Linked DNA regions of Homo sapiens: regions 1 and 2 are each linked to region 3. Evidence: promoter capture Hi-C in 16 types of primary human blood cells and fetal thymus (Javierre and others, 2016). All regions are on one chromosome and are shown on one strand. Each heading gives the region's core, a stretch centred on a gene start or on the middle of the fragment in contact. The rest is flanking DNA. Distances are from core to core; before and after follow the strand shown.

Region 1 (3,481 bases), core at 491-2,990, 1.0 Mb after region 3:
GGAAATTATTATTTCTGTCTATAGCAAGGTGAAAATAAAATGAGTGCTTTACAATTTTCAAAGCATTCTCATATCGATTATCTCATTTGTACATCACACCGACAATGGGAGAAAGCCAGATGGAGCAGTTTTACTGTTATCCTCTTTCTGTCCTTGTATGATAGTGGAAAGTGAGACTAAGAGGTTAAGTGCCTTGTCCACGTCATCAGGGAAATCCCAGCCTACAGGATCTCTACCCTGCTCTTCTGGTTTTAAGTTGGTACAAATATTTGCGCATTCTTATGGAGTGCATGTGATATTTTGTTACATGTAATGATTAAGTCAGGGTATTCCAGGTATCCATTACCTTGAGTATTTGTCATTTCTATGTGTTGGGGACAGTTCAAGTCCCCTTTCTAGCTATTTTGAAATATAAAATACATTGTTGTTAACTATAGTCACCCCATTCTGCTAGTGAATATTAAAACTTAGCCCTTCTACCTAACTATATGTTCGTACACATTAACCTGCCTCTTGTTATCCCTCTCCCACCCACTCAGCCTTCCCAGATTCTGCTATCTGTCATTCTATTCTCTACGTCCTTATAAGTAACTTTTTTAGTTCCCGCATATGAGTGAGAACATGAAGCATCTGTCTTTCCATGCCTGTTCTTATTTCACTTACCATAATGACCTCTAATTCCATCCATGTTGCTGTATATGACAGGATTTCATTCTTACATTTTCTTTATCCATTTGTCTGCTGATGGACACTTAGGTTGATTCCATACCTTTGCTATTGTAAGTAGTACTGCAATAAACATGGGAGTGCAGATATCGAACTTTTTATCCTTTGAGTAAATACCCAAGAGTGGGATTGCTGAATCATATGGTAATTTCCCTGCCTTTCTCAACTAATGCTGCGGGAACTTCATAGTGATATGGGTCTTGACAGGTCTTGAACATGACAAGAAGTATATCTATTTTGTTACCTTTGTGAGAGAGCACTTAACTCTGACTCTGGCCCACAGCCAGTGCTTAGTAAATAGTTGTTTAATTAAAATAAATAAATAAATAAATAATATTATAGACATCAAGTCAGCAGAACTCATGAACTAATTATTGAATCCATAGCAAGGCCTGACATCCTCGCCATCTTGGCTGCTGCTCAACCCACAAAATCCATTACATATTGTTAGTTTTCTGTTTCATTTAGTGAAACTTGTAATGCCAATTGTCAATACTACTTTCCAGTCATATCATTCTCCCAACTGCTGCTACTTCTATTCAGTAGCTCAGGTACATAGGCACTTCTTTAATAAACTTAATTATATCATGCAAAATGCAATCAATGGACGAGCACGAGCCTTAAAAAGTTTAAGCTTAACCTTTCATTTCATTAAGAAAATGTGTGATATGTTTATTTAAACCTTGTGAGTTGTCAAGCCCCAGAAGCCAGACACTGATATCAGGACGCATGTGACTTACAATTGAGAGTCTGCTATTCATGTCCTCTGTTTGTGTGAATGGCATATAAGAGTTCCAAGACATTTGTGTGTTATGTTGAGCTTTGAAGAATGTTGAGCACACAATCTGAATTTTATAATAAGAGAGTTGAAGAATCATAGAAAATAAAAGAAAGGTAAGAGAATGGCTGTGCATTTCTTAGTGGCTATTTTCTTTAAATGCGGCTGAAGACAGTCAGTAACATTAGCCATGCTAGATTTGGGCTGAAGGAAATGCTCAGATGTTAGTTGCTAGGAATGCCCTACAACTCTTGATTGTGCCAAATCAAATGACAATGCACATATATGATATATACACTAGCTTAGAGACCATATCAGCCTCCTTAACATCCTTTCTATATATACTGTAAGTTAGCAGATGCATTTTGGTCTTTCGGTAGCATTTTAGCTAAGTAACTTTTCAAAATGGTTCATCAAGGAAGCTGGTGGTTGAACTTAGTATATCTTATTTCTCAGAATCATAATCAACTCAAGAGACCACCAATCCTTTTTCACCCACACAGTCTTTCTTAAACACGCATATTGTTCTATTACAGCTAACTTCCTATCTTTAGTTCAGTTGTTCATTTTTCAGAAAAACTGACAAAACATCAATTAAATTATTTCTGTTAGAAGAAAAGCTTAAAGTGAAGACCTTATGATAATATATTCTAATAACATTTTGAATAATTATAGAATATACAATCCTGGATTCATTAGTGCATTCAGTGTCAACATGTGGTCATCCAGTTTTATTATCCCTTTAATAAAGCCATCTAAGATTTGTAAGTACTTTGCCAACTTCTCATATTAAGTCAAAGGCCTGAGGGACATGCAGAGAAAGTTCACAGGAGAAAGTGAGTCCCAGCTCTTTATTACACGCATATTGACACTAGTTAAATTTAAAAATGAAATTACCTAAATATCTGAGTAATATGTTTTACTTGTGTAAAGTACAATAGAATTTAAGAGGCCAAGGTGGCAGACCACTTCAGGTCAGGAGTTTGAGATTAGCCTGGCCAACATGGCGAAACCCCATCTCTACTAGAAATATAAACGTTAGCCAGGCATGGTAGCACATGCCTGTAATCCCAGCTACTAGGGAGTCTGAGGCAGGAGAATTGCTTGAACTCAGGGGGCGGAGGTTTCAGTGAACCAAGATCACACCACTGCACCTCTGCCTGGGTGACAGAGCAAGACTCCATCTCAAAAAAAATTTTTTAAGTAAATAAATAAATAAAATACTTATTGGGTGTTATTCAAGTGTGTGTATGTGGTGGTAGTGGGGGGTCATTTTTATTAATAGGAGTGAGAAAATGAATGGCTTAGAAATAATACAATGTCTTGTCCTTTGGTGTTCTGTTAATTCTACCAGTATATTTCACCATACTTAATATTCTGTACCATGTTGTTTTTGTTAAATTTTAAATGTGCTAATAGATGCTCATTAAAGTAATTCTGTTGTTATTTCTCTTAAAATAATCTTTTAAAATAATTATCCACAACTACTTTTTTGTTGTTGCAAGTCTAGATTTTCATATGTGAAGTCGCTTAAGGACTCACCTATGCTCTACGTCAATTTTTAATCAAGTATCGAACATCTACATTTCAGGTGTTGTGATAAAATACACCAATCACTTCCTGTAGGGCATGGATTATTATTCTCATTTTTTATAGATGAGAAAACTCTGCTTCAAAAAGGTTAAATAAGTTCCTAAGGTAAGAAAACTAATAAATGCTAGAACCTGTCTAGGAATCCAAATCTGTCTTTCTCCAAGGCCTATGCTCTTTTCAGTATAGCATGTAGCCTCTCAAAATTTAAAACTATCAAGGTTTATACAAATATATGCACTTTCACACACATATACACCCAGGCAGAGTAGGATTCTTTTCTTTTGAAAAATAGCCTTGACAACCAAAACATAATTGCATTGGAAAGACATGAGTTTTGATGGTGAACTTATGACATTTTGGTATATACCTGCCTTGGTTTTAACC
Region 2 (3,344 bases), core at 839-3,338, 1.1 Mb after region 3:
TTAGTGTTGTTATTTTGTATCTACAGTGTTTTTGGAAAATAGCATGATTAATCAATTGACTGGAAGACACACAGTCTAACAGACAATATATAGACCATTTATATTGGCCATGAAAGTGTCCATAATGGCTGACTTAACTGGCTTTAATGTGTAAAATATGGTGACTCCCATGGTTTTTAAGATATGGCTTAAAGTAGATATCAATTTCTTTACATTGGTCAACTATAATTTGTCCATAGGTTGCACATGTAGTAAGTAATATTTTGAGATATTAACTGTGGGGTTTTTTTCCCTCCCTCCGCTTCCTTGCATTTGTTACCTTTTACTGACCATTTAGGTAACAGTGCCTAGCAGGCCCGGATCAGGACAGATACTACTGAGAATTCAGAAGTAATTTGTTTGCTTTGAGTTTCATATGAGGCCTTTTAAAAAGTCCACAGTAGAAACAGTATTCTTGAAATTATAGCTTTCCTTTGCAGAAGACTCAGTATTTTGAGAGTTGACATTTTGCTGAGCCATTAAAAGCACTGAGAACCTTGGAAGAATCCATTTATACTGAAATCAAGGAGTGGGGAAGAATGCATGGATAGAATAACAGGTCCCAAAGAGATAAAATTTGACCAGCATTCAGACAGATAATGAACTAGGGCTAGAAGAGGTCTTGTGATTGGACAATGAAGCTGACCGCATTGACTAAACAATTGCAGGTATAGCACAGACTCACGATGATCCTAAGCACCAGGAAGAATGGATTATTAGATCTCTGCAGAGGCCAGTGAGATCAGAAAATGACATTTGGTGCAGAGCAGTGTCCCTGATGACACAACAAGTCCACCAGGTACTTAGAACACTTCCATGCAGAAAAAAAACGAAGAAGAGGAGAATTTTGAACTGAATATTTACCTCAAAGAGACTGAGCTTTAAAACAGAAGCATGTGTGTGAAACGCCACTAAGCAAAAGAGCTCATATTCTAAGCTAGGTTCAATTATACAGAACTAAAATTAAAAATAACTTCAATTTTCTAATATTAGAGTTTATGATTGTGTTGAAATATCATATCCACTAAATCATCAGGCTTTGGATACCTCAAATTTTAGTTCTTAATTAATCTGAAATTCTCTATTATCTGAAATAGTTTCCAAGATAAGAAAGAACAGAGATATAGACCAATGGAACAGAACAGAGCCCTCAGAAATAATGCCGCATATCTACAACTATCTGATCTTTGACAAACCTGGCAAAAACAAGAAATGAGGAAAGGATTCCCTATTTAATAAATGGTGCTGGGAAAACTGCCTAGCCATATGTAGAAAGCTGAAACTGGATCCCATCCTTACACCTTATACAAAAACTAATTCAAGATGGATTAAAGACTTAAACATTAGATCTAAAACCATAAAAACCCTAGAAGAAAACCTGGGCAATACCATTCAGGACATAGGCATGGGCAAGGACTTCATGTCTAAAACACCAAAAGCAATGGCAACAAAAGCCAAAATTGACAAATGGGATCTAATTAAACTAAAGAGCTTCTGCACAGCAAAATAAACCACCATCAGAGTGAACAGGCAACCTACAGAATGGGAGAAAATTTTTGCAATCTACTCATCTGACAAAGGGCTAATATCCAGAATCTACAATGAACCCCAACAAATTTATAAGAAAAAAACAAACAACCCCATTGAAAAGTGGGCAAAGGATATGAACAGACACTTCTCAAAAGAAGACATTTATGCAGCCAAAAGATACATGAAAAAATGCTCATCATCACTGGCCATCAGAGAAATGCAAATCAAAACCACAATGAGATACCATCTCACACCAGTTAGAATGGCAATCATTAAAAAGTCAGGAAGCAACAGGTGCTGGAGAGGATGTGGAGAAATAGGAACACTTTTACACTGTTGGTGGGACTGTAAACTAGTTCAACCATTGTGGAAGTCAGTGTGGCGATTCCTCAGGGATCTAGAACTAGAAATATCATTTGACCCAGCCATCCCATTACTGGGTATATACCCAAAGGATTATAAAACATGCTGCTATAAAGACACATGCACACGTATGTTTATTGCGGCACTATTCACAATAGCAAAGACTTGGAACCAACCCAAATGTCCAACAATGATAGACTGGATTAAGAAAATGTGGCACATATACACCATGGAATACTATGCAGCCATAAAAAATGATGAGTTCATGTCCTTTGTAGGGACATGGATGAAGCTGGAAGCCATCATTCTCAGCAAACTATTGCAAGGACAAAAAACCAAACACCGCGTGTTCTCACTCCTAGGTGGGAATTGAACAATGAGAACACATGGACACAGGAAGGGGAACATCACACACTGGGGCCTGTTGTGGGGTGGGGAGAGTGGGGAGGGATAGTATTAGGAGATATACCTAATACTAAATGATGAGTTAATGGGTGCAGCACACCAACATGGCACATGTATACATGTGTAACAAACCTGCACATTGTGCACATGTACCCTAAAAATTAAAGTATAATAAAAAAAGAAAGAACAAGGAGAAAAAGTTTCTTTTTCAAAGAATTTTTGACTGTCATAAAATGTAAAATAGGTATATGTATTAAGGATATTTTAGAAAACTACATTAAAACTTACTTTTAAAAATAGAGCACATTATCTTAAGCAGATTACAGCTATTTTCTTCATATCTGAATTTAAAAACAAGTTTTTGAATCTATAACTCAAGGTGTTATCATTTACAAATATTTTGAATCTCAATATAAACTTTAAAACACTTTAGAAAACTATAATTTTTTATAAGCGATAACTACACTTAGAAAATATAATAACTTTTTAATATGCAAGTTACATTAAAATATACTTATATAATCAGCATTTGGTTCTGGCTTATCTCCAGCCGAGTATAGTGTGTACTCCCCACAATCTGTAGGTTTCACCATTTTCACTGTAGCTTTGTTTCTGAGTCATGGACCAAAGCTGATTGTGTTACAGGATAAGCTGTTTGAAGTGTAAGCCACATTAAGCCATGCTAAGCCACAATAAAACTATTACTGTTAGACATAATAAGATTATTAATATCAGGTTTTATATCAGCTCCACTTACTGAATTTTAGCACATAGAAAGGTAAGGAGAAAATGGATTTTAAATATTTTTTGATGCTGTTTGAAATTATTTAATCCTACAAATGAATATTTTAAAACCATATCTTCCTATTTGTTTTTGTTTCTAAGTATTTGACTCAATGGAACCATGAAAAGGAGGAGCACGTTTATCTTGAAAGGGACAAGTTAACATTTGATTTATTGACATTTTGCCTTTCAGTGAGAAAAAATATGTTAGTCTATAGTGAGTA
Region 3 (3,191 bases), core at 382-2,881:
GTACCTCTTAGATTTGTGTTTGTGTTAGAGAGTGTCCACCATCTGTCGGCCTCATGTTGATTCTTCTATACCCTTCTGTTTATCAGAGTAGTAGGAAGACTGCAAAATACATTTCCCAAAATCCCTTGCTAGCTGGCATCCAATGGAGGGCAGGACATGAATGAAGGCTGGAGGGAAGAAGCCATTTTTTAAAAATACTTTCTGCTTGCACCTGTGGCAGTGCCAGCAGCAGCAGCCACATGGACAGCAACAGTGGTGACAGCAACAGCAAGATTAGCAGTTTGGGCAAGAACATAGAAGCAAGGGTGCCTGGTGAGCACAGGTTCCTGAGGCGCTGCTCAGGCAGCAGTTCTCCAAAGGAAGCAGCCTCTATGGCACAGTGTCCATGGGCTGTGGGTAAAATCATTTTCCCTATTGTCCTCCAGCTCTATGTGCAATCACAGTTTAGTGCAATTGCCAGTCCTTGGATAACCTAACCCTTCTTGTTTTACTCCTCTAACCCATTTCTATATTTTCATAACAGATTCCTTACATTAAATGCCCTCTGTCAAACACAGATCTGTTACTGTTCTCCTGATTGAGTAGCGTCCAAGGCAAGCTGGTAGGAATTTCAGCATGTGTGTGCAACATCAGCAGATGCAGTGCACCCAGAATGAATTTCATCATATCCTGGAAAAACGTTTGAGGAAGACTCGATTGACAATGTCAACTCTGCACACCACTGTTCTTTATCTCTTGGTAAAGAATCATCAACCTCTCAGATCCAGTGAAAGATTTTATGTTATTTACTGGCATTTAAAGACACTTGTTTGTGCTGTGCTTATTTCCCAGGAGGTCTGCATTCAAATTACTGGGGAAAAAATGCAAGACTTTTGCATCTGTTGAGCCCTTTCTTCTTTAAGGCATATGATTCATCACTCTCATCTCCCTGCTTTTTTCTTCCCCTTAGTCTCCTAAGAATTTTGAATGTATTTTCTTTTGATATTTCTTCTTCCCTTTTCTTTAGGAACTCTTCATCTTTGCAGATAAGCTGGCATTCAGAAGGAGGACACTTGAGAAAGAAAGGAAGCCAGTAGAATAATGCTATCACAGAAGAAAGGATGAGGTCAGTGTGGGCTCTAGTCTTACGCCACAGGTTAATTATCATCATATGTAGCCTCTAATTAAGATAAAATATGGAGAATATCTTATTCCCCCACAAAATGAAAGGGAACTTAGCTTAAACTATGGAATAATTTCATAGGTTACCACAGGCAAATTCATGCCCATACCTCTATATTCAGGAACTCTTCCTTCATCATCCTGAGCAATGAGGAAGGGGACTACTGACTCCAAATTTTGGAAATATTTATGTCATGGCCCATTGCCCTGATGGATTTGTTGACCTTTAATATTTAGAATCTCTGCCTCTATGCATGTTACCCCCGATATCTGCATGTAACACAGATATGGTAGATTTAGAAGATGACACTTGATTAGACACAAAATGTGGAAGAAAAAATATCAAACTGTGTAGCTGAATGTTACCCAGAAGTGAAGAAAGGCATGCAGCCAGATTTCCCCAGCTCTTTGTTTCATCACATGATGTTGCTTGGATATCAGCTTATCAACAGACTTCCACCACCACCACCAGCATATAAACAGAGTCCGCGTAAGAAAACTACACTGAATAGGAATGGCAGCTTTTAAAAGTGGGGGAACTACAGTATAGGGTAAGTTCTTTTTAGGCAAATCTGTCTTTTTGTTTCAGATATATTATTTTGTAGATGTTTCTCTCCCTGAATTCCATGAGTATTTTAATCAAATTTTATCAGGTATAGGCCACTTGAATAGGTAAGATAAATTTATTCAGCAGTAGCCCCAGAAAAGCACACATGAATTGTTGCCATAAGAAAGAGCATCAGTCATTTCTTTATGCTATTTGAGGAGAGAAGAAATCTTTCCAGCTTGAAGCATATTTATTCTCTGTTCTACAGATCTGGAAAATGGGAGGAGGGATATTGAAATGATTTGAGTACAGGATAGAGCGTAGGTGTCAATCACAGAGAATATTACAGGAGTATATCTTGGTTGGTATGGTTTCTGGAGTGCACATTAAAGGAAAGCAGTACTGACTAAAATATTTACAGTTTAATTTAGACATTTATATAGCAGAAACAGTACACACAGAGATGTTGACTAATGTTTTCCTAATAAATTTCTCTTCTGGAAGAATGGAACCTTCGATGTGTGAACTCAAATCAGTCTCCACATGTATTACAATACTCCTTAAGCATGTGTATGTTTATGAACCTATGAGTGTGCATGTGTTTGTGTGCATGAACATGCGTGAAGGTCGGGTAGAGAGAGAAGAAACTGGCATAAAGTGAGAGCATTCTATATTCACGATTTCAGTGAATCAAACACCCAGTGAGGTAGGCATTGTAACTGCTGTCTTAAGGATGAGAGGGCTGAGGCTTACAGAAGGAAAGAAACTCAAGTCTTTCTAGTTCTAAAGGCCATACAGCCTCTATTACAGTTTATTTTCTTCAGTTAATATACGTGCAGGTATTAATAATAATCTACGTTTAGCAGATTGTTACTATGTTTGATTTGCTGTGGTCTTACTTTCTATCATTCAGTAATTCACACTGCTAACAAAGACAAAGGAGTAAGCAGAGGGGAAAATACTCTGGGTTTGCACTTTGTGATTTGGCAACCTATTCCAATATGTCTATTCTTGCTGGATTGTTAAATTCATATTATTATACACACTTCAGACTCTAAACCCTAAATCACCAGGAAAGGAGACTTAATCATAGCAAATGTGACTCTATTATTCTGTATCTTTCTCAGGCAAGTGGAAACATGACAAGTTTAATAGTTTTATAGTACAATGCTATAAAATTGCACATCTAAATTGCAAGAAGTGGAGAATGACGTAAAGGCATACTACACTGCCACTAAAAATCATATTTTTAAGGAATATTTAATGATCTGAGAAAGTGCACAAAATGTATAAATTATGATCTCCCTTTTCTAAAATTACACACAATGTACACAGAAAAAAAAAATAAATAAATAAAAGGAAAGTGAAGCTCAGCATGGTGCCTCATACCTGTAATCCCAGCACTTTGGGAGCCTGAGGTGCAGGATAACTTGAGCCCAGGAGTTTGAGACCAGCCCAGGGAACATAGGGAGATCTTATCTCT

What was found. The method cuts DNA at HindIII sites, captures the fragments that hold promoters and counts their contacts. A CHiCAGO score of 5 or more calls a contact.
Region 1: a fragment that was not itself captured here is called in contact with the fragment with the promoter of FAM216B in region 3 in 1 of 17 cell types (M2 macrophages); the score reaches 8.3 in M2 macrophages.
Region 2: a fragment that was not itself captured here is called in contact with the fragment with the promoter of FAM216B in region 3 in 1 of 17 cell types (monocytes); the score reaches 5.3 in monocytes.

The regions. Positions count from the first base shown.
Region 1 is chr13:43,799,173-43,802,653 of GRCh38, forward strand. No RefSeq gene overlaps it. Among named protein-coding and RNA genes, the nearest start is that of ENOX1, 14 kb to the left of the region's middle. The HindIII fragment of the contact is 764 bases long and covers 1,359-2,122 here.
Region 2 is chr13:43,832,951-43,836,294 of GRCh38, forward strand. It overlaps a transcript of CCDC122 not described here. Among named protein-coding and RNA genes, the nearest start is that of CCDC122, 45 kb to the right of the region's middle. The HindIII fragment of the contact is 4,663 bases long and covers 1-3,344 here.
Region 3 is chr13:42,779,953-42,783,143 of GRCh38, forward strand. It overlaps FAM216B (family with sequence similarity 216 member B), which reads left to right and starts at 1,632. Exons shown (of 4, transcript NM_001318932.2): 1 at 1,632-1,712. The HindIII fragment of the contact is 7,774 bases long and covers 1-3,191 here.